Regions from separate parts of the Homo sapiens genome. Here regions 2, 3 and 4 are each linked to region 1. Evidence: promoter capture Hi-C in human tissues and cell types (Jung and others, 2019). All regions are on one chromosome and are shown on one strand. Each heading gives the region's core, a stretch centred on a gene start or on the middle of the fragment in contact. The rest is flanking DNA. Distances are from core to core; before and after follow the strand shown.

Region 1 (6,672 bases), core at 2,556-5,055:
GAGCCACTGCGCCTGGCCTGGTCTTGAACTCTTGACCTCAGGTGATCCACCCGCCTCGGCCTCCTAAAGTGCTGAGATTACAGGCGTGAGCCACGGAGCCTGGCCCTAGACTGAGTTTATAAATGATTTGACAGACAATGGCAGAGGAGAAGGGTATGCTGATTGGGAGCAGAGATGAAGTCAGGAAGATCTGGAGAAGTGAGTCAGATTGCTGTGGAGGGATTGGGGAGGCAGGTGGACTGCTTAGGAGGTGTTAAGGTAGTCTCGTGGGTGGCATGGGAAGAAGAGAGAGATGCCAGAAACACTGAGTGGTGAATTAACATGGTGACTAGGTGAGGGAGTTGAGGGAGAGAGACAAGAAGTAAAGACGGCTCTTAGCTTGGAGAGGTGTCCCTGGAAGAATGGTTATGCCAGTAATAGAGGGGTGAGTTTGCAGAAAGAAGCTGACTTAGGAGGCAAATCATGAAGTCCTTTTCCCATCTGTTATGCTTGTGTTGCCTACGGCATACTGCTACCTGACTGACTGCTGGCATGACTCCCCATGCCTTGGGAAGGTGGAGAGTGAGTCAGAGGATTTGATTGACCCCTGGGCTGAGGGCCCTTCCTTCCTGTCTCCCCCGAGACCCCCTAGTCCTTCATACATGTGCCCGATGAATACAATGCTTGGTATACAGTAGACACTCACAATATGTGTGGAAAATAAATCCATTTAAAAGAAGAGCTGTCCAGAGAAGTTTCAGGCCAAGGATGATGATTAGAGTGAGGCAAAAGAGAAGGAGATAGTTTCTAACAATGAGAAGCACCAAATTTGAGTCCCTGGAGGTGGTCATTTCCCAGAGATTAAGGTCTCCAAGGTCTGGTGCAGGCTTGCACTTTTTACCACTTGAGTGGTAAAAAACTTGGTGAAGTTAAGGATGTAGAAAGACTGTGGTGTCAGGGTGCCACATTTGTGAATGCTGAAGTTACCAGGGGTACTGGCAAAGAATAAAAATGAGTAAACTAGATCCAGGCAAAAGGGCAGCCCTGCTTTGGACTGGGTGTGAAGAAAGGTGGCATAAAGTAACCTGAAAAGGGAATACCTACTAAATTATAATAGAGACTGAGCAACAGTCTGAAAATTTCTCTTCCATTTAGCCAAGGAGAATGGCAAACACACAAGTTCTGTTTCCTTAAAACCCAGAGTTGAGCTAATGTATTCTTTCTTTTTTCTTTTTTTTGAGACAGAGTCTCATTCTGTTACCCAGGCTGGAGTGCAGTGGCGCAATCTCAACTCACTGCAACCTCCGCCTCCCAGGTTCAAGCGATTCTCCTGCCTCAGCTTCCTGAGCACCTGTGACTACAGGCATGCACCACCATGCCTGCCTAATTTTTGTATTTTTGTAGAGAAAGGGTTTCACTATGTGGGCCATGGTTGGCCAGACTGGTCTCAAACTCCTGACCTCAGGTGATCCTCCCACCTCAGCCTCCCAAAGTGCTGGGATTACAGGCATGAGCCACTGTGCCCTGCCTAATGTATTCCTTCTAAATTCATAGCTGGTGTGTGTGTGTGTGTTTCCCTTCAAATGAGTGGTTAGACTAAGATCAGGTGTTGCAAACTGAGGACCTGATATTCTGAAGTGACTGAAATGCTTAAGTCCATTAACAAAATGTGAATTAACATTTAAAAATAAAGAGAAAAAGAATCTACCTTTTTGGTTTTCCTTGAAAAGTGGAATCTTCTGGCAACACTGGGCCACAGTCCAGTATGACCAGAGGATCTGAAGCCTGTGTTTATCAATAGGCCACACCCCACCACTCACAAGACGAATGCCCCTGGACATAGCTTGGCCACCAAAGGCTTCTGAATTCCTGACTTCTGGGCCTCAGGTTCTTTAAGGCCCTTTCGCTTTTTTTTTTTTTTTTTTTTCTGTATCTCCTCATATATTTATTCTTTTTCTGTGATCAGTGTCCTTTGCATGTTTTTGTTGGGTTGTTTGAATTTTTTATTTTTATTTTTTGGGGATGGAGTCTCACTCTGTCGCCTAGGCTGGAGTGCAGTGACACGATCTCAGCTCACTGCAACCTCCGCCTCCCAGGTTCAAGCAATTCTCCTGCCTCAGGCTCCCAAGTAGCTGAGATTACAGGTATGCGCCATATGCCCGTCTAATTTTTGTATTTTTTTTAGTAGAGGTGGGGTTTCACCATGTTGGCCAGGCTGGTCTCGACCTCCTGACCTTGTGATCCACCCACCTCGACCTCCCAAAGTGCTGGGATTACAGGCATGAGCCACCGCGCCCAGCCAAGGCCCTTTCGCTTTAAAGATTGTCCTTTTTGATCTCTTCATGGTATAGTCCTACCAACTTTTGACCTCAGTTCAATTATAAGTACTACAACATTACATACCTGCTCATGTCTACCATAGATTCTGAAAATTAACATACAAGCAAATGAAGCCCACCTGCTCCAGAAAGTAGCTTTTTGTTTTTGTTGTTGTTGTTTTTGTTGTTTTGTTTGAGACAGAGTCTCCCTCTGTCGCCAGGCTGGAGTGCAGTGGCGCCATCTCGGCTCGCTGCAACCTCCGCCTACCGGGTTCAAGCGATTCTCCTGCCTCAGCCTCCAGGCATGCGCCACCACGCCCAGCTAATTTTTGTATATTTAGTAAAGAAGGGGTTTCACCATGCGGGCCATGGTTGGCCAGACTGGTCTCGGTCTCTTGACCTTGTGATCTGCCCTCCTCGGCCTCCCAAAGTGCTGGGATTACAGGCGTGAGCCACCACACCCGGCCGAAAGCAGCTCTTTATCAGTGTAATCCATCCAAATTTCCCTCTTTCATTCTTTCGATGCCCCCAGAGGGAGTGGGAGTGCTACACAGGAGAGTCTGCGGACCAGGGCTGGGCTGCTGCCTGAAGGCTAAGATTCTGTGTGGTGGTAGAACAAGAAGTGTTGGGGGGCATGTAAATACAGGGACTGCCAGAGTGAAGGTTGCAGAACCGGGCTTGGAAGGATGATGAAGAAACTGGGCGACACTAAAGCGCCAGTTCAACAAGTATTGCGTATCTACGACGTGGTAGGCATTGTTTTGACACTAGAGATTCAGCAGTAATTCAACCAAAGTACCTGCTCTCATTGAGCTGAATTTCCGCGCGGGCACCTAGGTAACGCATATAAACACTCGTATCACATACATACACATGTACATGTCAGGTAGAAATGCTATTTATAAAACTGAAGCAGAGCATGGGAAGAGCGAATGAAGGTGGCTATTTGAGAAGACCCCCAAAAAAGCGAGACTGCAAAGCACTCGCGGTTGTTCCTTTTCTGATCTTCTAGCTACAGGCAGCGAGGTGCGCTCCCAGGAAGGCCCGCCCTCTTCCTCCTGATAGGGCGCAAGGTGCCAGGGACGCTCCCCCGCTCTTCCCCGCCCAGAGGCGGCCTTGTGGGGGCGGAGCTTTGTGCCCAGCAACATGAGCGCGGCGCGCAAAGAGCCGCGCGCGGAAGGGTCCCGGCATTCTCCTCGTTCTCACTAGGCGTGGAGAATTACTCCAGGCGGATCGTGGCATGATGGGAACTGTAGTTGACGACCGCCGCCCCGCGCCTGAGGGGCAGTAAAAGTCGCCAGGTCCGGCTCCATTTCTGGCACAAAACTTGCAGCACCGAGGGGTTGTGGAGAGCCCTTGCAGGGGAAGAGGGCAGGGTCATCCCGAGAACCAACGGGCACGTATAGCCCGGCGAACGCCCAAGCCGGTCACCGCCCCCGGTCACGTGTCGCCAGCCTCCGCGGCCGCGCGCCGCTCTCAGCACCGTTCCCGCCCCACCCGGCCCGGCAGTCGGCCCGCGCCTCCCCCGGCGCTACTGCCACCTCGCGCTCGGAGGCGTCACAGAACGTGCTCTTCTCTCCCCTCCCCCCTCCCGCTCTCCCCCTCCTCCCCCTCCCGCTCCAAGATTCGCCGCCGCCGCCGCCGCAGCCGCAGGAGTAGCCGCCGCCGGAGCCGCGCGCAGCCATGGCCGAGAACCCCAGCTTGGAGAACCACCGCATCAAGAGCTTCAAGAACAAGGGCCGCGATGTGGAAGTGAGTGTGCTTCCGCGGTCTGGGCCCGCCTGGCCGCGCCGGCCCGGCGACGCGGGGAGGGGCGGGGGGCCGGCGCCGGGCTGGTTCTCGTCGGCTTGTGGTCGGCCGGAGTTGGCCGCCGCCTCCCGTCACCGCGGCCCCGGGCTGGGCGGAGCGGGCGGCGAGACGCCGGCCGGGCTGCAGTCACCCCCCGGAGCTGCCGGCGCGGCGACCGGGAAATGCCGGCGTTTTCGGCCCCGTCACGCGGGCGCGGCCTGGTGTCGGCGAGGAGGGGATGTGGAGCTGAGGCGGGGTCCGCGGGCCAGGGCCGCCCGGATGAACGGGGATGCTGCCGCCCGGGCCCTCCGACCGCACAGCCGAGGGGGCGGCCGCTGCTTGCGCCCGCCACCGGTGCAACCTTCCGTCCGGTGCAGCCCCCTCTGCGCCTCCCGCGCGGCTCACATGGAGCCTCGGCTCTGCCGGTCCGGGCTCCTACCTTCTGCGAGCCGGGCCCAGGCGGGCGGTGGCGGCCCGCAGAGGGGGGTGGGGACCAGCCGGGTAACTGACTTGTTTGAGGGTGATCGATGGGGGAGGGTAGGATGCGCCAGGACCATTTTCTTATATTCCAGTGCTCGTCTTTGGACTAGTCGTGCCGAGCTGTTGCAGCTCATACTCCTGCAACTGCTGGCATTTGGAGCGAGCTGAAGGTGGACAATAGTTTGCCATCTATTGTGTTCAGGCTTCGGAAAAGAGGTTGCTCCGACCTCCGCTCATAGGACTTGTTTTCTTAGCCTTTCTTGGAGTGGGGTGTGCATAGGGTGATAATTTCTTTGACACGTTTTACTAAAATAAATTGGATACACAGGTTCATAATTCTCTTACATACCTCTTGCTCCAAGCTAGTAGAATTTCCAAGTGGTTGCAAAACTAAACATTCATCGCGGTCACTCAGTTAGTTGCTACTCAGCATGTTGCCATTGTCTCATTAAGGTGACATTAGCAGGTACTATTTGCAAACTCGGCTTATTGAGGCAGCGCTAGAGGTCTCTCTGCAGCTACTGAAAACAGTAAGTATAATGCACAAACTTCACTGGGACCGTGACCTTTGGATTTGTTAGGGGGAAAATGGTTTTAAGGCCGCAGCCTTCTTTGCTAATACTAGGCGACATGATTTGCAGTTTTGTAATTTTTGATAAGCTAGTGTGATTAAGAGGTGTGTTTTATCCTGTCTTAAGGAAGGTTGTGGGGTAAATATACCATTCAGTGTTCTATTTTGTAGAGAAACAGACAAACTCAGGCCGTTTTTCAGAGCTACAAAATTAAATACTAGTAGGAAAGAACCTAGGGAGATATCCGTGGAATTCCCATTTAAATGAGTCAAATAAAGATCATATATTCTTTCCTGGTCATGGTTAAATACCCTTTGTAAGAAATACATCTAAGCGAAAGTAAAACTTGGGAATAGGAACAAGAAATTTTGGAACTGCCTCCTGTTATTGGTCCACTTGATGACAAGTGTTAATTTTGAACTTTTCCCATTAGGAATTTTTCTTGAAGCCTATCCTGTTCCAAATAAAAATTTATTGAAAAATACTCATTGTTTGTACAGAAAAACCAGTAACATTCTTCTCTCGGATATTGGTACAGGTTTTTGTTTCATTGTTTACCTCTATTGTGTTCTGGTAGCTCAGTGATACTTAGTAAGGACTCCTGCACATAATAGGTACACAACAAATATTTGCTGATAAGAATGTAACCCGTGACTTTTAGATGCATGAAAAAGAGCATGGTTGCTAAGCCATTCAGCCTGGTATTGGTCACAACATTACATTTCTCGGGATTCTATAGTGTAACTAAAACATGAAATAGACATTCAAATGGTAGTTCTAATGTGGCAGACACTGTTACGAGCTTCATGATACCTTATTTAATCTGTGTAACAAGTATATGAAGTGTGGCATTATCCCCACTTTACATGAGTAAAGTATTTTTTGAGACGGAGTCTTGCTCCTTTACCCAAGTTGGAGTGCTCAGGCACTCATAGCTCAGCTGCAAGCTCAAACTTCTAGGTTCAAGGAATCTTCCCACCATGGCCTCCCAAGTAGCTGGGACTACAGGCGGACACCACCACACCTGGCTAATTTTTTAATCTTTTTTAGAGACGGGGTCTCGCTTTGTTGCCCAAGCTTGTCTTGAACTCCTGGGCTCCAGTGATTCTCCCGCCTCGGCCTTCCAAAGTGTTCGAACTACAGATGCTAGTCGTCACACCCAGCTGGAACTTTAGATAAAAAACCTCAGTGTGCTTATGTAGCCTGTGCATGTCACTCAGTGGATATGGGTATTATTTATTCACTAATTGTCTATTGGGTATCTATCAATGTTAGGTCTTGGGGATAAGGAATAAGATGCAGTCTGTACTTCAGGGAGTTTACAGTCCAGTGGGGGTGATAATTACAATGCAGAACAACAATTGTTACAGTATAGTATTCCGAAAATGCATGCCAAAAAAACTACTTGGAGGTGAGCAGAAAGGGAAGATACTCTGGTTGATTTCTAATGGATGAATGGGAGTGAGCTGATTGTGAAGGATGAAAGAAAGGTGGCCAGGCAAAGGGCGGGAGAAGGCTGGTGGAAGAAAGGGGCA
Region 2 (6,672 bases), core at 2,734-5,233, 1.3 Mb before region 1:
TCCAACACTCTGGTGCCATGTTTGGACAATGTTTTCCCTGTGGTCCACTTACCACGGCTGAGACAGGTGGGACTTTCCTAAGACTCCAAGAAGGACAGCAATAGGGAAATGATGAAGGAAGGAGAATCGATGAGGGGTGTCATTTAAAGGGTACACTTTCAGTTTTTTGAGATGAAAAAGTTCCAGAGATCGCTTGCAAAACAACGTGAATATACTGAACATGACTGAATGGCACACTTAAAAAATGGTGATGATGGTAAATTTTATGTTCTGTACACTTCACCACAACTTAAAAAAAAGAAATGAAATGGACAAACTGTATTTGAGAATCCAGCTTCTGACCATACGTAGGCTAGGTAGTAGGGTGGTGCATAGGGCAGGAGAGGCCCACGGTGGCTGCCCAGACCCAGCCTGGACTGCTGGAGCTGGAGTGGGGTGAGGCCTGAGTTCATGCTTCCCTCCTCACCAAGGCGTGTCCTTGGGCACCCCTCCTGATGGAGAGCAAAGAATCCAAACACATTCATCAGTTGAGCACCCTTTACATTCCATCATGCGACTGTCAGACAGTTTGTTTAATCTTTGACTTGCCCACCATGGTGTAAATTAATGATAGTTTTATTCAGGGGGCTCACTGGCCCCTTATACTAAGGTTAGAGCTTTTGGTACCAATATTAAATAATTCATGAGTGTTTTCTCTAATGCTTGAAAGAAGCTTGTGATTTGTTGTTGTTGTTCTGGCCTTGATAGATGTGTATCTGTGGGATTTGGGGTTTCAAATTGGGTTCTTTGCAGTTTCACAGAAGGTTAACTCTGCTCCCCAAGCTTATTCTTATCCTCCTCCTCTCCCACGCAGCCCCTCCAGTCCCTGACAGACAGCAGCCCTGCCCCTGGGAGTGAGGGGGCCTAGGAAATTCAGGATATTGGTGAAAGGATGACAAAATCCACTAAGGATGCAAGGGTCATTTTCAGAGTTATAATTTTTAATAAAAATGAATGTGACCAAGTCATTTTTATTAAGTTCATGAAATGACCACTTTTCTCCTCTGATAACAAAAAACATACCAAAGCATAAAGAAGAAAGTAAAAAATATGACCTGCAAAACTGCCACCCAGAGATAATCATCACCGGTAACATTTGGGGATATGTCTTTTTGAGTGTGGTTTTAACACACACACACACACTCTCTCTCTCACACACACACTCTCTTACACACACACACTCTCACATACACACACACAAACTCACAAACTCATTTTAATTTTTTTGCCATAAAACTAGGATGTCCTTTCATTTAACAATTTACAATACATCTTGGGCTACTTTCCAAGCCCATAAATATAGATCTGTGTCTTCTTGTTTTTTTTTTTGTTTTTTTTTGTTTTTTTTTTTGAGACGGAGTCTCGCTCCATCGCCCAGGCTGTGTGCAGTGGCACGATCTCAGCTCACTGCAAGCTCTGCCTGCCAGGTTCACGCCATTCTCCTGCCTCAGCCTCCCGAGTAGCTGGGACTACGGGCGCTCACCACCACGCCCGGCTAATTTTTTGTATTTTTCAGTAGAGACGGGGTTTCACCGTGTTAGCCAGGATGGTCTCAATCTCCTTACCTAGTGATCCACATGCCTCAGCCTCCCAAAGTGTTGGGATTACAGGTGTGAGCCACCACGCCTGGCCTTTTTTTTGAGACGGAGTCTCGCTCTGTCATCCAGGCTGGAGTGCAGTGGTACAGTCTCGGCTCATTGCTACCTCTGCCTTCCCAGTAGCTGTGATTATAGGCACCTGCCACTACGCCCGGCTAATTTTTGTATTTTTAATAGAGATGGGGTTTCACCATGTTGGCCAGGCTGGTCTCAACTCCTGGCCTCAGGTGACTGGCCTGCCTCGAACTCCCAAAGTGCTGGGATTACAGGCGTGAGCCCCCGCACCTGGCCTATGTCCCCATTTTTAATGGACATATATTCCATTGCATTCCTCCTGCACCACAACTGCAGAGTCAAATCTGCTTTGCTTGGCTATTAGGAACATGGTTGCCTACACCCATTTCCTGTGAGTGTTCAGTCCAATCCGCCCTCTCCTTTGCCTTATGCGCCTCCCAATGGCAAGCCCTTCCTTCCTGGGTCACATGCTTTTCTCTTCTAGTGGCCACCAGCTCCAGGGAGCACAGCTTGCATTCTAACTGGATCCTGCGGGCACCGCGCAGACACTCCGAGGATATCGCTGCCCACACTGTGCATACTGTAGACGGCCAGTTTCGAAGGAGCACCGAGCACAGGACCGTGGGCACTCAGAGGAGACTCGAGAGGCACCCCATTTATTTGCCCAAGGCTGTGGAAGGGGCCTTCAACACCTGGAAATTTAAGCCCAAAGCCTGCAAAAAAGAGTAAGTGCTTGGGCTAAATAGCATGACCAAGATGTTCTCGTGGCCTCCAGACGCTTGGGGTGATCCTTAAGGTGCCTCCAGCCCCATCTTACATGCCAAATATTATTCATATATATATATATATATATATATATTTGTTGTTGCTGGTGGTGGTGAGGTCTTAGTTTCAACATTTTTTTTTGGTAGTCTGCACTCTAGCCTGGTGCACTGCTCCTAACTTGCTTCTTCCTGGGTCTGCCTCCCTTTCTTTCTGGCCCACTTAGCCCATGCACTGTGCCATCCACCTTCATGGATTTCCCCCCAGTGCCATTGACGCATGGCATGCTACAGACTTTTAATGAGTTTGAGGTTCAACAGAGCATAGCACCAAGAGGAAACCAACATCAAATGAATCAGATGCCCCTCTCTAAAATGCACCGGGCAGGCTCCAAGATGTAGAACGTCTTGCTGGCCAGGCCCCTCTTGGGCCATCTTACCACCATCTCCTCTGGCCTGTCTCCTTTTAGATCCTCCTCCCCCAGGCCTAGTTACCATCACTAACCGTCAAATTCCTGTTATCCACTCGCTCAGAGCAGTAAGCTCTTTCTGGGTTTGGGCAACCCAGGCCATGCTGCAGGGCCTTGCCTGTCACAACGGAAGGGCCTGTCAAGCCTCATCAGCTGTCTTCCTTTGCTTCTACAAAAGCCACTAAACCCTGTTGGATTTAGGGGCTTTCTAGATAGCATTTCCCTTCCACAGTAACAGACCATGCACTGGACATATTAAAATCACAACCCAGCCCTCACCACCCGTCCTTCCCCTTCAAGGCCAGGCCAAGGTCCAGCTGAGGTCCACCCATGGCCCCCATGGCGACACCATTTGGTCCTCCCCAAGACCCAGGACTAGGGCAGCAATCTGAGGGTCTCCATGAGAATGGTGGTCATTGAGCATCCCTTCCCTCTGTGTGGCCGGCCAAGCCGAACTTAAACCTCCTGCCTCATTCCTTCCTTCTAGCCTGGGGAGCTCCAGACAGATCCTTTTCAACTTCTCAGGAGAAGATATGGAGTGGGATGCAGAGCTCTTTGCGTTGGAGCCCCAGTTGTCTCCTGGGGAGGACTACTATGAGACAGAGAACCCCAAAGGACAGTGGCTGCTTCGAGAAAGACTTTGGGAGCGGACGGTGCCCTGACTCCATCTGGATTCCTTGACGTGTCTCAGACTGGGTCCCTGAGAAGCTGTCCGCTTTCAGCGCAGCATGAGGTATTTGGTAGAGTTGAAAATGCCAATTGTAACACAGTCAACCCACTCAGCACACTGCCTGCTGGTGCCGTGCCAGTGCCAAACAGACCTGTGGCTTCCCAGGGGACAGGTCTCAGGACACTCTCAGAGCTTGAGTTTCTCTGCGTGGGCTGATGACCAGGGACTTACAGCCTGGCTGGTCTTCAAGAGCTGAAGGAATGGAAGGTCTTGAGTGGAGTGTCTGGGCTCACTCCCCTGACCTCACCTGGCCTGGTCCTCATTCTCCACGTGTCTGTCCAGGTGGCTGCTAGCAATGTGCTCAGTACCAGAAATGAACTCACCTGTAGATTTCTGGGCCAAAGCTTCAAAGAGGTAGCTCCTCTTTCTATGAGGCTCAGAGACATGCTGGATCTGCACTGAGGTTGCCGTCTTGTGTGCAGAATGCAGTTGAGAAAGCAGCTCCTTTTGCTCTCTTTTCAGAGTTTTCCAGAAACTCCTGCTGCATTAAGCTAAGATGAGGCTAATGCCCTGGCAATGGGGTGAGGGAAGGGGTATGTCACGAGCCTGCCTGGGGGCCACACTGTTTCCTCAGGCCCCAAAACTCAGCTCCCCTTCACATAGGCAATTGACAAGAGAAGAAGGGAGATGGGGTGATTCTTTTCTTTTTCTTCTAATTCTTACCCAGAAAAATCTTTTTAAATATCCATGGAACCAGTTTATGACAGGCCACACCTTTCCCTTTCCCCAGTTAAGAGAACAATCAGAATCATTACGTTCTTTTGGTATAGAAAGGATTTCTGTATTTTAGGAACTATCTGAATCAGAATTACATTTAAAATATATTCTTTGTATTTCTAAATACTTTTTACATTTTTGCAATAGTTGTACCCATTCAAGCTTGAGAACCACTGGTTTGGAGAATATACTGAAATTTATCTATTCTCACTTCTTTTTTTGGCATTTTCTTGTAAACCAGTCTGTGCATGTATAAGGGTCTTTGGGCAGAAGGAAGGGAGAGAGACAAAAAACAGAAAACAAAACAAAACAAAGAAAACCACAATCATTTGAATTAAGCCAAGGATGTTCTAGGCTAAGGTCAGGCTAAGAACTGAACAGAGGCTTCCTTTCTGCCATGCCTGTGGGATGATATTCTTATTGTTCCATTTTTTAGGAAGAACCTTTTGTTTATGTGAACCTGATCATATGAATCTAAGAATATGTAACTCTTACAAATAAAAAACAGCTAGTAATTATATTGCATTCTTAGAAATTTTATCTCAACATGTTTTCAGAATGAAACCATACTAGAAATGTTTTAATACCTCTCTTTATTATTTTTCGAGTGCCAATGTCAATGTTTGGAAAGTTTCTTTCATTTTGTTGCTTGTACTAACCCAGCTATAGCCAGAAGCTTGACTGGAAAGTAAATGTTTAGGAGATTTGTTTTATAAACTGCATTAAAGCACTGCCATTTATCACCACAGATCTTTTATTTTCCCTAAATGTGGCCTTGTTTGAAGCCTCATCTATAAAAGTTCATTGTTGGGGATAAACTCAGGATAAAGGTGTCTTTACTCTGCCTCTTATCAAACTACAGTTTATCATAGATCCACCCTGAAATTATGTGGTGAAGATACTGTGTACATTTTGTTTTTAAAGATAAGAAAAAATAAACATGACTGCGAGGATGTTTGGAGTCCTGATTTTTTAAAAAGCATTTATTGCTTATGGCACATGAAGCTGTGCCGTCTTATTTTGCTTTGTTTTGTATGTTTTTTGTCTTTCATGAGACTATACACAGCCTGAAAAATTCCATGATTGGGAAACAGAAGGTTGTCTTGTCTTTGGGGATCATTTTTAGGTGTTTGAAGTTGGTGATAAACCCAAGGATCTGTGCTCTGCCTGGGGAATCTTGAGATGGTGTCTGGTGGGGTTTGAGATAAATGAAATCTGAAACAATAAAAGTCAATTCAGAAAACCCAGTTGAGTTGACAGATTCTTTTCTTCCTTGGATTGGCCAGTTATTCAATGGAATCAAGCTGATCACTGAGGCTATGTTAGATCTCTGGCTTTCCCAGGATTCTCAGTTTTGATACATGAAAATCTACCTATCCCTAGACAGAATGTCAAAAAGAGAGGATGTGCATCCGTGGCATCTGGCTTGTTTTTTAGCACCTGGTTTCTAGCTCCCGCTACAGACTGTCTTCTGCTTCATGGGGCAAGATGCATGGAGCTGCTAGTTTGATTTGAATCGTGTGTACCCAGCCATGTGCCATGCAACTGAGAGCATTGCTGCCAAGACCGACCTTCCTGGTGCCCATTCTCAGACACAGAGCCCAAAGTGTCTCTAACAGGACACTGTGTTCCTCTCACCACTGTTCGCCTTTGCAGAGAGAATGAGTTTCCTGTTGCTGCTGTAATAAATTACCACAGACTTAAAGGCTTAAAACAATATATATTTATGCTTTTACAGTCTGGAAGTCAGAAGAACCAAAATCAGTTTCACCAGGTTAGGTCAAGATGTTGGCAGGGCTGTGTTCCTTCTGGAAGCTTTAGAGGAGAATCCATTTCCTTGCTTTTTTCAGCTTTCAGGGGCTTCCTGCATTCCTTGGCTGGTGACCCCATCCTTGCATCACTCCAACCTATTGATTCCATCATCATGTCTCCACCTGCTCAGTCTGTGCTCCTGCTTCCCATTTATAAGGATTTTTTTTTTTTTTTTTGAGACAGAGTTTTGCTCTTGTTGCCCAGGCTGGAGTGCAATGGGCACGATCTTGGCTCACCGCAGCCTCTGCCTCCTGGGTTCAAGTGATTCTCTTGCCTCAGCCTCCTGAGTAGCTGGGATTACAGGCATGTGCCACCATGCCTGGCTAATTTTGTATTTTTAGTAGAGACGGGGTTTCCCCATGTTGGTCAGGCTGGTCTCGAACTCCTGACCTCAGGTGATCTGCCCACCTTGGCCTCCCAAAGTGCTGGGATTACAGGTGTGAGCCTACGTGCCCGGCCCATTTATAAGGATCTTTGTGATTACATCACTCTCACCTGAGCAATCTCTCCATCTCCAAATCCTTAATTTA
Region 3 (6,672 bases), core at 2,634-5,133, 1.2 Mb before region 1:
TGATGAGTAATTATTGGATGGGTTTGTGGTCACTTAATTACCAGGGCCCTTGCCCCTTGCTTTACAGAGTCGTGACTATACGAGCACCTTTCCCAGACGTGGCCAATTAGGGGGGGCCCAGCTGGTTTGGAGCCAGGCTTCTAAGGAAGGCTGGGTCCCTGTTCTCAGCTCCGAGCCCTTTCTGCAGCCTCTCTCAGTCCTTCCTAAGTGTGGCTGTCAAACTTTGCTGACCTTTCCCCCTTGGGGCTAATGAGTGTCACAGCTATTTTTAACCTTGGGTTTTCTAGAAGTTGAGCCGTTAACCTAGCTCCTACAGAAGGAGGATCCTGGGAGGTATAAATGAACTCTTCACACACAAGGAGGTGACTAATGGAGGAACATAGGATTTTCAGTGTCAGGGCTAGCCTTGAAGTTTTGTGTTGACACCCTTGATAGCATCGACCAGATGTCAAATCAGAGCTGGTCAGCACAGGCGGCATGGGTGGGAGGGCAGCCAGACCATCTGTGGAACAACCTGTTCATAGTATAGACGGCTGAGCCTCACCTGAGAGGGATTTGGCAAGTCTGCAGTAGGGCTGTGACTGGTTCGTTAACCAACTTTATAGGGGATTCTGATGAGCCAACTGGCTTGGGGATCACCATCGTGATGGAAAGGGCAATAGACTGAAATCAGAATTCCAGGTCCTGGCAGTCAGCGACCTGTGTGTTACTTCGGGCAAGTCCTCTTCAAGACATTTTTCTCATCCTGAAGGCAGGGGTAATGGCGGGCCTTCTTCACAGGGTTGCTTTGAGAAATAGATGAGATAGTATGTAGCACCTGAAAACAGCAGAGTGTCAGGTGTGCGGACTGCTGAGTCACTTGGGCATTCATTCGCTTAACAAATATATGGGTCTTAACACAAAACTGTAAGAGGTACTGCAGAGGTTTGTTTTTTTTTTTTTAAATACGATCTGTTGTGTGCGAAGAGCTTCAGACAAATGGGACAGAGGAATCCACATGGGAAGTCAGGCTCCCAGCCTTGTGCAGGGCGCTCCAGCATGACAGTGTGCACAAGTGATGCTGAAACACACACTGGGATTTGGAAAACCTCTTAGACAAGGTGCATGCAACAGCAGAAACAAGAATAGGCAAGGATCTGCTCTGGTCTCTGGAAAATGTGGGGACTTCTGGAAGCTGGGAATTTATTTCCTGCACGGCATGGCCTCTTTTGTTCATGGATGGAAAGAGGCAACCAGGCAGTGTGATCCTAGAACAGCCACCCCTTCCCTCATCCTGGAAATGCCACTGCACTCTTTGTATCGCTAGGGTAGAAGTATACACTCACTGGTAGAATTTCCCCTAAAATTTCATTTTTGGAATTTGTGTCTCTTTTGTCTGTTCACACATCCCCTGCTCTTCCTCTAGGATGAGGGTGAACGCTGGGAAAACTGAGATGGAAGCAAGTGGGAGCGGTACAGGGCTCTGCACAAGTGGAGACCACACAGAGCAAAGGCCAGTCCAGGGTGGGGAGAGAGGTGGGACGGTGGCACAAGCCCTGTGCTGTCAAGGACCAGGATGGGGTGAAGCGGTGAATGGGGTGAAGCGGTGAATGGGGTGAAGCCGTGGTGGTGCAGGGCCCTGGAGAAGACTGAGTGCCTGATTTCAGGCTCAGGCCAAACCCTCCACCCCAGTCGTGGAGAATCAGTGTTGAAACCAAGATGTGGTCTTCCATATCTTATTCTGTTTAGAAGGTTAGAAACAGATGCAGAAATGCTATGAAGTGATTATCTTAATGGCAATTGTAAGAATCCTTCTTGTAACCCCATATCATATCGTGTATGATTCATAGAGCCTGCCTGTGATAACAGGTGATGATCCACATCCCACCTCTATTCCCCAAGGCAACAGCATTTCCTCACATTCCATGCTGCTATCGCTGCAGCCACTACCACCCCCAACTCCCCAGCCTCCAAGTTTGTGTTTGACAATCTCACATGATAGGTGTTTTCCAAATGGGAAGATTTCTTCTGCAACCATTCTTTTCATTTAATCTGTTCTTGATCTACATTGAGATAGATTTCTGTGCTGATTTTAATACTGAGCTATGTGATTTTTCCAATTAAAGACTATTTGTTTATTTGTATTATAGAAGAAATATTTAATTTTTAATAAGTATGGATAAACCAAAAGAAGAAAACCAAAGCACCTATAATTACATCATTCAGAGAGACTACTATTAAAATATGGGTCATATCTTCCCTGACTTTTATATGGGAGGCTGTGTATATGTGTATACAGACATGCTTTTTCTTACAAAAATGGAATTGTCATGTATATACTGTTTTGTAATCTGGCAGGGCATGAATTTCTTTCCTTTGAACATTTAAACACTTAATAATACTGAGGAGGATAATTTTAAAAAGATATAATGTGCTTCACATGGTACCCTTATTTCCCATGTGACTTGTGCTATTACATACCCCCAAACCACTTTTACATTGTACCAAATGAAAATCCCAATTATCTTATACTACCCACATCTACAACACACTTTGGTACCCTTGATGTTCCATGAGTCCTGAAGTTTCCTCTAAATTTTCCAAGAAAGACTAAACTTGTTCAAGTTAGCTTTGGTGCTTAGAGTATCCCAGGTGTCTAGATGTCAGCAACACATGGAAGATGTACCTTGTAATTTCTATTAATTGGAAAATGTAATTAACCAGAAGGCTACATTTCCCAACTGTGCACAACAATGAGCATTAACTGTAACAAAATGATGGTACTCATAGGCAGTCCTTGGGGGTTGTGAACAATGGTTTTGTGGGAGCGAAAGATGATGGACGAGAATCCATCTCAAGTAAACAAAATTCTTCCAGCATCTGGATTGTGGAACTGAATTGGAGTAGAATGTCAAACATATATGTGTGAAAATTCCAAGACAGCCTTGCAGTTCTGCGCTGACCAAGTCTTGTTTGAATTGTCAGAGGCATCAACCCAAATTGATGGAGTCAGGTTTGGCTTGTCCAACTTTCACTGTGCTGTTTCAGTTCATTTTCTCAGCACAGTCCTAGCTGATTGTCCTTTCTGTCTGTTCTCTGTTCACTCTTTAGGGAGAGAAAAGGGAAAGAAGAAAATGAATTTAAAGGAAATAGGAGTAGAAGTGGAGGAGATGGAAGATCCAGTTAAGATACAAGTGAGAGAAATGAAAAATGGTCAGGCTAGAAGAGAGAAAAATGTGCTATGAGGCAGGAGAGATGAATCAACGCTGAAAAGCTACATTTCTGAGAAGAGAAATTGCAAGGGGAAAAAATTAGAGTGTTGAATAAAGAGGAGACGAAGATATCTGTAAAATATTGTTTCCTAGTGTTGAGCTTACTCCAAAATACCTTATGAGAGGTTAGGCCAGAAAATAGATTATTCCTTTTGGTTACAAAGAAATCATGGTGCTCTCAGGAAGCAAGAGCAGATCATGAACACAGCCTGACAGCTGCTGGGTACAGGGAATGGTTTCCTTTACCGTATTTCTGCTCATTTTAGCAATTCCAGCCCTTTCCAGCTCAGTTTTCATTTTCACTAGAGTGACCTCCACTTTTCATACAATTACAAACATACAAAACAAATAAGTTCTGGGATCACAACACTTTTGTGGATATTTTTTTCTCTCAAAGATTCTTATAACATTTCTTTGAGTTGAGGGGGAGACAGATGTGTTGTGTGGTGTTGTTTTACATCTGGAGAAACTGGGGCACAGAGGAGTATTGGGGGAGAGTTCAGCTGCTCTTTGTAGTGCTGTTGGGTGGTGATGGATGTGGAGGCAGATGACCAGGTCTTCTCAACAGAAAAAAATTACACTTCCATCTGTAATCAACTCATTTTTTCTCTATTTGCTATGATGACAAAACAAAACGGAACCCAAATTTCACAAATACACTATTTTTATCATTTAACCTGCATGTTTCCATTTTTGAAAAATTTAGTTCTAATTATAATAGTTTTTACATCTCAAAAAATACAATACTGCAATAAACTCCATAATTCAAAATGAAAGAGAGTATTGGGAATAATAAAATTAGTAGAGAATCAGCAAAAAGCAAAAACAAAACATCCTGTATCTGAATAAGTAACAGTTTCCAAAGAGCATAAAATACTGCTGAATATAATTCAGTCGTGTGTGTGTGCGTGTGTGTGTGTGTGTGTATGTGTGTGTCAGAGAGAGAGAATATGTAATAGCAATCAAATGAACATATAGCTAATGATATCTGTACTTAGCTAACTCTGGTTGCGCCATACCCTATAAAATGTCACAGTTGAGAGTTTCATGAACCTTGATTCCTTTTCAGATTGGCCCCAATATATGCATGAGCTAAACGCTTCCTGTAAATCATTGCTGGAAGTTGCCTCAGTGACATGGCCCTACATGTCCCAGGAATCCCCCTTTCTCTGCTCCAGGGCCCTCTCTCCAATTTTCACCTCATTCTGGGCCTGAGACTGAGATGAGACTGGGGAGAGGTCTGGTAGCCCCAAATTTTCCACATGTATGTCATCACTGACATTCCTCAATGAGCAGTGCATTAGCGAATGGAGCCTGTTTCTGTCTCATTGTTTGTGCTCTTAGGATCTTAAAACAAAACCGATCACTAATCCAGGTTCAGGATGAAGTCTGAGTGCTAACAGCCTCTAATAGTGAAAAAAAAAAGTCATCCATTATTTTGGGAAGAGAAGGCCGAAGACAGGAGCCCCTCTTGATTTCCCGCTTTCTATAATACTAGATGTACGTGAGCCTCAGACCTAATACATGCGCCTTTCTGAACTTGAATATCTCTGGGACAATGATTTATATTTTTAAAAAAGGAAATGGCAATGATATATGACTTTAAAATCTCAGACGCTGCCCTTCCAAATGAAACTGCAGGGAACGCGGGAGGAGATAGATTCAGTGTCCTCCACCCGGCCTCTATCCCATTCCTTCTCTGATCCCACTCTCTCTCTTGCCTTGGCTCACAGTCCCGGAGGCGGTTTTTCTCCAGGGCCTTCTCCCAGGGCTCCCTCCCATGCTTAGAAATACTAATTGGCATCTTTGAGTTTGTGCTCTATGGGGCATTGCGTGACTCACTTGGTATAAATCATCTAGTTTAATGATCATAACAACCCTGGAAGGCAGGTGTTATTTCTCCATTTTTCATATGAGGAAAACTGAGGCCCAGAGAGCTTCAGTAACTCATCCAGGGTTACAGGTCAAGTAGTGGCAATGCTGGCTCTGACCTTCAGCCTCCGTGTCTGCTGCTCAGAAGTCACAGACAGCCACAGGCCAGAAGACAAGGAGACTTGGTGCTATTGTGTGAGTTATGCAGAAGCAAAGATGTGGGTATGACCAAAAAGATGGCACAGGGCAGTTCAAAGAACTCATATAGCCACAAGGCAGTGGTCTGTCCGGGCTGTTTGGCCTTGGCTGTGAAGAATTCTTCCTGTCCAGGATCACACTGAGTAGAAAAGGAGGCCCGTAGTGTCCACACGTGTTCCCCAGGGTCTGGCCCAGACAGACAGTCTGAGGCTCGATCACTTGCTCACCCCTCTGTGTTCTTTCAGCTCCTGATGAAATCATCCCTGTGGGGAGTGCAGGGCCAGATGGGGACTCCATGGAGACAGCCGACCGGCGACAGCCTTCAGCTCCGACAAAGACACATCACCTTGCAAATGACACTTTGCCGTCTGGTTTCTGTGTTTTGTTGTAACAGGTTAAATGAACCCCTGGGCTTAATTTTCCCCCTACTTAGTTCTGTGGCAGCAAAGAAAAGTGACTTCTTTTCATTTCTCAGCTCAAAACTTCTTAAGCCGTGTCTCTTCCTCATCATCCCTTTGAGAATAAAAGTCTAGAAATGAAACACAATCCTGACAAGTTTGGAAAATGTGCTTTTATATTCTTAGTTCAAAGCCAACCCTAAACTTTGAGATTTTGGGTCAAATTTGTTCTCAGAGACGTAAGTTCGGCCTTGAGGCCTATTTCTGTCTTCTTCTAACAGGAATGAATGGCTTCAAGCTCTCATCACTATGGTTCCACTGAACCTTTGCCTGAACAAGAGCCCCAGTGGCTGACACCCTGACTCTGGAGGCTCACCTTGTTTTAAAGGGTGGTGGGAAGGAGAAAGGGAGGAGGAGGGGAAGGCGGAGGGGGAGGGGGAGGGGGGGGAGGAGGAGGAGGAAAAGGAGGAGGAAAGAGACCCAGGCTCTGCAGTTTATAAATCACCCCAGAACACAGCCAGGCTGTGAAAGGCACTCAGCCAGAAGTTGTGAAAGCAAATAATTTTCATTCCCTGCCCTGGGAATTACGTGAAGCAACAGAACAAAAGCTGCATTCCCCAGAGATTTTCTGAATGTAAAATGAAAGGGAAAACATGAAAATCACCGGAAAGGCAGAGTTAGGAAAGCTAAGGAAAGAAGGCAGAGCACAGCCAAGACACCTTTGGCCGGTTCGTCTCCTGCTTCCAGCTGTAGGTGCAGAATACCTTCTGCAAAGAAGAGTGTTGGAAATGTTCTCAGAGGCTATCCCAACTAGGAGAAGCGAGGCATGAGATGGGGCTATGCATCTGCATTTCGTGATGATAAGAAAATAAGTATTTTTTTTGACCTAGACATTAACGAAAATCTTAAGGGCACACAGGAGCTTGTGATCCATTTAAGCTAGTACCTTACTT
Region 4 (6,672 bases), core at 2,061-4,560, 1.0 Mb before region 1:
AGTATATATACTTAAATATGTCTAACAGATCTTGATATATTACATATTTAAGTAAATAATGATAGAAAATGAATATTCTTACATGGATGCCCCAATTTCTTTCAGCTGCCTCAGATACTCACTGGATAGTGATAGCCAATGATATGCCAGACTTGATATTGATTGATAATGTTATGGCCCCACCAGGGAAGGTTAGAAGAATGGAAGCTGCTTATTTCAAATTTGAATGAGCAATCAAACATTCCTGTTCTGATTAATGTTTTTTTGCCTTGATGCACATATAAGAACTGGGACTAGCAGAAAGGGTTTAGCTTAGGACTGTGGAGAAATGCTTTTCTTCATTTCTGATAAAGCTCCATTTGCTGTTTGATCCTGTCTTCTTGATCTCCCAAGTTCCTGATAAGTCTACAAAGCTAAAACACTCACAGTTTGATCATTAGTAGTGTAGATCTTCCTCTCATTCAATGGAAGTCTTCTCTTGGAGGTCAGCAGTAAATGTCTCATTGCCGTGACCCACTGGTCAGTCCTTATGCCTCTTCATCTTTGCACATGCTGATCCCTTTCTCAGAAAGAAAGTCCCTTTAGCCAGGCATCATCTCCTTTGAGAAGCTTTCGCTGACCTCAGACTGGAGAACTCTATTATAGCATTTGACACTCCCCACAAAGGGGAGAACAGTAAGTTGCAGTCTGATGAAGTCATATGATGCCCGGGCTGGCTTATGAGTAAAGAGGTGAGAAGGTCTCCTACTGAAACAGATTTTCCCTCTTTCTTCCCCTTACAATAGCCTTTCAAAGTTCTTGAAATGTCCATTAAGGAATTCCTATACTTTACTTTTGATTTCACAATTTCTCAGTCAAAAGCTCAATATCATTGCATAGGATAATACATTACCTTAAAAAAAAAAACACCAAAAAAACCTCAACACTCAAAGATTAAATTTGTGTTTGGAAAAGGCTTTATAGGCAGTGGTACCTGGAAACTGGTGCTTGAGAGAAGCAGGAGGAGGGAGGGGAGATGTCAAATACCATCTTTTAAAAAATTTGTTTGTTTTTGATGACCATCTTTAAGAGATTTTTAAATGCCATGTATGAATTCAAGAAAGAGAATAAAGCAGGATTCTAAGAAATAATAGAAAGCTTCTTAAGGAAGCCGGTATAGTATCATTTTATATCTCTGATATTTCTGCTCATCTACTAAAGCTCATTAAAACCTATTAATGATTAGGAAATACTTATGTTTTATGAAATGTATAAAAAAATTTAAAGATAACAATCTAAACTCTCTTTAAAAATTAATTTTTATATATATCTTAACACCATTTAACACACTTAATTTTAGTACTTCTTTACTAAAGTTTGCGGAGGCAGACTACTCTTAAAAGTAGGAAAAAAAAAGGCAGAGGAGCAGACCGACTTTTTTTTTTTTTTTTTTTTTTGAGAGGGAGTCTAGCTCTGTCACCCAGGCTAGAGTGCAGTGAGTCTAGCTCTGTCACCCAGGCTGGAGTGCAATGGTGCGATCTCTGCTCATTGCAACCTCCACTTCCCAGGCTCAAGCAATTCTCCTGCCTCAGCCTCCCGAGTAGCTGGGATTACAGACTTCTGAAATTCTGAATAGTATAAATACAACTGGAATTACACTTTATTTTTAAATATACATTTCTAGGTAAAAACATAATTAAAGATCAAATAATTTTGGTTAAATTTTAAAATAAGCCCAATATGTAACTAAATAAGTCTTAGCAGAAAAATGTGAGGATAAAGTTGAGATTGCTCCTATTTTTTAATATTTATAGCATTTATTTATTTGTAATTACTTGTGAAGTTTCAAGTATTAAATATTACTCCGAGCTGTCTAATATGAGTCAGAATTTAGGGCAATAGAAAATATAAAACAAATTTTTCCTTACTAATACATGTTTTTTAAAAAGTTGTGTTTATGTTCTTCATTGAGAACTAAATAATCACTAAAAGAATTGCAGAAGTCATAAAATCATTAAATTAAGGAGAGAAAATCTCTATATATTCAGGATAAAGACATTTAGTATGCTAAGATCTCTATCCAATGGTCAAAAAACAACCAACCAAAGATGAAAATAAAAAATAATTTCTTGGAATATTATCTGAGGACTTCCAATTTTAACATGCAGAGCTAAGTGAGTATTTTCTTATTCATATCTCAGAAAAACCAACCAAAACATCAAGGGAATCAAGAAAAACAGTAATGCAAAGCTTATCCTTTGTAAAACTAGGAAACAACAGAGATTTTTAAATGAGAGAGAGAGAAGACTTAGTGGCATAGGACATAGGAAGTACCAGAGTGAAGATGCCTGTGGATTCTGAGCTTCAAGAAAGTCATAAAAGCACAATTCTAAGTGATACATACTGAAATGTAAATGGAGGTTTTTACAATAGAGGGCAGCAAACCACTTCTTATACAACCAAATAGTAAATATTTTAGAATTTCTGGGCCATATGGTCTCTGCCATAACTATCAAATTCTGCCACTGTAGTGCTGAAGCAACCATGTACAATAAACAAATGGGCATATCTATATTCCAATAAAACTTTACTTCCCAAAAAAGAAAGCTAGCCAATGGGCTATAGTTTGCTGATATTTGTTCTCTAGCAATAAGGGTGTGTCAGCTTGACTGAGTGCTTCCCTGGGCCTCAAAGTGGTGAGGTTTCTAGAAAAAGGAAAGGCGATAAAGCTGAATGAGAAGTGGTAGGAAACTGCACAAAGAAGACAGGGCATTGCTGAAAGCATAGCTAGACATGTGGAAGACGGAATTAGAAAAAAATGAGTAAAAAGAATAAATAAAAAAGATATTTAAAAGGGTTATATGATAGATGCAAAATATATAAAAAAATCAAACATATGCATAATTGGTGTTCTTGAAGAAGAAAATCAAAATAATAAAACAATAACTGTTAGGATTATTACACAAAAATTATGAATATAAAGCATTATTAAACAAAATCCAATTACACATTAAAAAACTAACACACCATGAGCAATTATATTTATTCTAGAATGCAAGGATGGTTCAATATTAGGAAATCTATTAATATATTTCTACCACACTAATAGATTAAAAATCATGTTTCTAGATGCTGAGAGACATTTGATAAACTCCAACATCCATTCTTACTAAACAAGCAAATAAACAACAAAACAAAACTGTCAATAAATGGCAATAGATACTTCCTTAACCTAGTGCAATATACTAATCTCAATCTAAAAGCTAGTGCTATAATCTATAAGGAAACTCAGAAATATTTATATTAATGTCAGGAACAAGACAAGAATGTCTACTACCACAACTATTCATAGACGTTGATCTAGACATCCTAAGCAATGCAGTTTTACAAGAGAGAAAGAAAATGTATACAAATTAGAAAAGAAAAAGACAAATAATAATTGCTTGTAGATTATAAAAGTAAAAATTTTATTATATAAAAAGTGAGCCAACTGAAAAAAAATATTAGAACAATAGTGGAATTCAGTTAGGTCTTTGGTTATAAAGTAAATATATACAATCATCATCCTTCCTATATTAAAATAAAAAAGGCATAATAGAAGAAAATACTTCATTTTTGATAGCAATATCACTAGAAAATATTTAGAATAAATTTGTCAGATGTGAAAACCTATGTAAAATCTTTAACTGGCTGGACGTGGTGGCTCCTACCTGCAATCCCAGCACTTTGAGAGGCCTAGGCTGGCGGATCACCTGAGGTCAGGAGTTCGAGACCAGCCTGACCAACATGGTGAAATCCCATCTCTAATAAAAATTTTTAAAAAATAGCTGGGTGTGGTGGTGCATGCCTGTGGTTGCAGCTACTCAGGAGGCTGAGGCAGGAGAATCACTTGAACCCAGGAGGCAGAGATTGCAGTGAGCTGAGATCATGCCACTGCACTCCACACTCCAGCCTGGGTGACAGAGTGAGACTCTGTCTCAAAAACAAAAACAACAACAACAGAAAAAAAAAAAACCCCATAAAACGAACAACATTACACTGTCTCTTGTGGACACAAAAGAACACTTGAACAGATATAAAAGTATATTATATTCTTGGTGAGGGAAACTCAGTATCAGACAGTTTTCAATTCTCTCTAAAAAAATATAAACATTTAATACAGGTCCTATAAGAATATCAATAAAATTTGGGAGTCTATATATGATTCTAAAGTTCATATAAAGGAAAAAAACAAGCAGGAATAACCAGGAAAATTCAGGGGAAAAAATAGAAAATACATGGTACTAGCCCTACCTGACATTAAAATATTTAGGACGTGATGACATTTCAATTAGTGGGAAAAGGGTGAAATTAATAAATGTTGTTCATTCTAGCCCTCTAAAAAATTAATATTGGATTCTAACCTCAGACCTTACATCAAAATGATTTCCTGATGAATCAAAGATTTCCACGTTAATAAAAATATAAAAATACTAGGACCCACCATGGAAAAGTTTTAAAAGTATTGTAGTAAGGAAGATCTCTTTAAGTCCATTACAAATCTCAGAAGTCATAACAAAAAACTGATGAATCTGACAATATAAAAATAAACTGGGCAAAAAATTTGCAGCTCACATAGTAGACTAGCACTGTCAATGGAAATACAATGTAAGCTACACGTGTAATTCTAAATTTTCTAGTAGTTAGTGTAAAAAGTAAAAAGAAGTCTGTTTTTTAAAGAAATGCATCACCTTTTTTCTTTAATTAAAGAAATTAATTTTAGTAATATGTTTTATTTAATTTGTCATATCAAAAATAATTTTATTTCAATAAGTAATCAATACAAAATATTATAAATAAGATATTTCTATTCCTTTTTGTTCCAAGAAATCTGGTGTGTATTTTATAATTACTGTGCATCACAATTGGAACTAGCCACATTTCAAGTGTTCAAGAGCCACATGGGGCTGGTGGCTACCATATTTGACACACTTTAATGGGTTAATTTTATTAATGTAGAATATTCTAATATAGAGAGAATTATATCAATAAGGAAATGTCTAACAACCTAATAAAAAAGGGCAAAGCATTATTAATTCACTAAAGTTGAGAGAATTTCAAGTTAAATTATCAGAAAATATTACTTCACATCAGATTGACAATGATCAACACATTCTATAACATGCTGAGTCCATGAGGAAGGGGAGAGTGAGTCGTTTCACACACTGATGGTTAAAGTATAAATTCGTACAATCTTAGTTGAGGGAAATTTGTCAATATCTATCAAAATGACAAATGCACATACCTTTGACCTAGCAATTCCAATTTGAGGAATGTTTCCTACAGATGTATTTGCAAATGTGTGAAATGATTTATGTACCAATGACCTGTTAGGCTATTGGTTATACATGTAAAAATCTGAAACTGCCTAAACGTTATCAATAGGGAACAGGTTAAATAAATTATGAAACATTACACAATGAAGTGCCGTGTGATAAAAACTAATAAGAAAATATATTATGTAATAATGTAGAAGCCTATTTAAGCTCTATTGTTATGTGGATAAAAAGACAAGGCACAGATAAGTATAAATAGCGTGGTCCCAACTGTGTAAAAAAGTACATGTACATGTATGATATACACATGTACAGACATATAAAACATATCTGGAAATATCCATATATAATTAGTAATTCAGGTCGCCTCCTGTGAGGAGAACTGGTTGTCTCAGTGACAGAGATAAGAGGGAGAGTTACTCTTTAGTGTATATCCTTTTGTGCCATCCAAGTTTAGTACCCCAAATATGTATGACCTATTCAAAATTAAATAAAATATTTAAATTAGTTTTTGAGGGCATTGAAACAAGAACAACCATGGAGAAAATTTTATTCAATTTTTGATATATATTGCATTTTCTTCATTTCTGCTTAATATTTCTCAACATAGCTGTTGACATAGGTACTGTCGCTTTCTAAATGAAGACACCAATATGAAGAACATGGGCTTGCTATCTAAGAATTTCATTTTTGGCTCCAGCTTTCTTGAGAGTCAGGAGCACTAATTAAATGGTTTTGCTTAGTTCTTTCTTTCTGACCTACTCTGTTTAGTGGAACCAAATGGGAGGTATTTCCAAATCATAATCTCTTTCACCAATTGCTCTCTTAACTTGATTGTACCTTCCTGGGTGGAGAAGCATCAGTTGGGTTTCTATTGAAATCAACAAGTGCCCAGTTCCTCAGAGGCCAGCCACTCTGGATTAAACTGCATCAGGCCTGTTCCCAGAAAACTAAACTAATGGGCTTGTGCCTTTTTTTTTTTTTTTTTTTTTTTTTTTAGTGTATAGAGGCTCCCTTGTTCATTTTGCCTTGTCTCTCTCCTGAAATCCTGGCTGGTTCCAAGTCCTGACTACCCCCATGAGGAGAATCACAGCCCACCTTTAGTGGCACTGATCCAAGCGGGCCTTCCTTGCCCACCTCCAGACAACTAAGGCATTGGCAACACAGCATCTGGCACAGATTCTCTGCAGGCAAGATTATTATACCAATTGAAAATGGGGTTACAATGGCCAATTGGAGTTTGAGGCATTTAAAAGGTAATAATAAATCTATTGGCAATTGAATAGTCATTAATAACACTACCATGGAAACAGATTGACATAGATTTCTCAGATTCTCATGAATTCAACTTTGAACTCCCTAACTTGGTGTAAACAAA

The links. The method cuts DNA at HindIII sites, captures the fragments that hold promoters and counts their contacts. A contact is called where the count stands out against the background at its distance.
Region 2: a contact is called between a fragment that was not itself captured here and the fragment with the promoter of KPNA3 in region 1, in 1 of the 25 tissues and cell types used here (thymus).
Region 3: a contact is called between a fragment that was not itself captured here and the fragment with the promoter of KPNA3 in region 1, in 1 of the 25 tissues and cell types used here (spleen).
Region 4: a contact is called between a fragment that was not itself captured here and the fragment with the promoter of KPNA3 in region 1, in 1 of the 25 tissues and cell types used here (hippocampus).

The regions. Positions count from the first base shown.
Region 1 is chr13:49,789,815-49,796,486 of GRCh38, reverse strand. It overlaps KPNA3 (karyopherin subunit alpha 3), which reads left to right and starts at 3,805. Exons shown (of 17, transcript NM_002267.4): 1 at 3,805-4,049. The coding sequence starts at 3,981. RefSeq lists enhancers at 3,510-3,639, 3,443-4,104, 4,105-4,766, 4,771-5,290 and silencers at 3,710-3,959, 4,080-4,649. The HindIII fragment of the contact is 11,550 bases long and covers 1-6,672 here.
Region 2 is chr13:51,081,024-51,087,695 of GRCh38, reverse strand. C13orf42 (chromosome 13 open reading frame 42) reads left to right here. Exons shown (of 4, transcript NM_001351589.3): 3 at 2,137-2,377; 4 at 3,371-5,577. The coding sequence ends at 3,545. Among named protein-coding and RNA genes, the nearest start is that of C13orf42, 27 kb to the left of the region's middle. The HindIII fragment of the contact is 3,186 bases long and covers 2,391-5,576 here.
Region 3 is chr13:50,993,706-51,000,377 of GRCh38, reverse strand. It overlaps the pseudogene GUCY1B2. Among named protein-coding and RNA genes, the nearest start is that of RNASEH2B-AS1, 86 kb to the right of the region's middle. The HindIII fragment of the contact is 7,435 bases long and covers 166-6,672 here.
Region 4 is chr13:50,801,741-50,808,412 of GRCh38, reverse strand. It overlaps DLEU7-AS1 (DLEU7 antisense RNA 1), which reads right to left and starts at 558. Exons shown (of 5, transcript NR_046551.1): 1 at 427-558. It also overlaps a transcript of DLEU7 not described here. The HindIII fragment of the contact is 3,253 bases long and covers 1,684-4,936 here.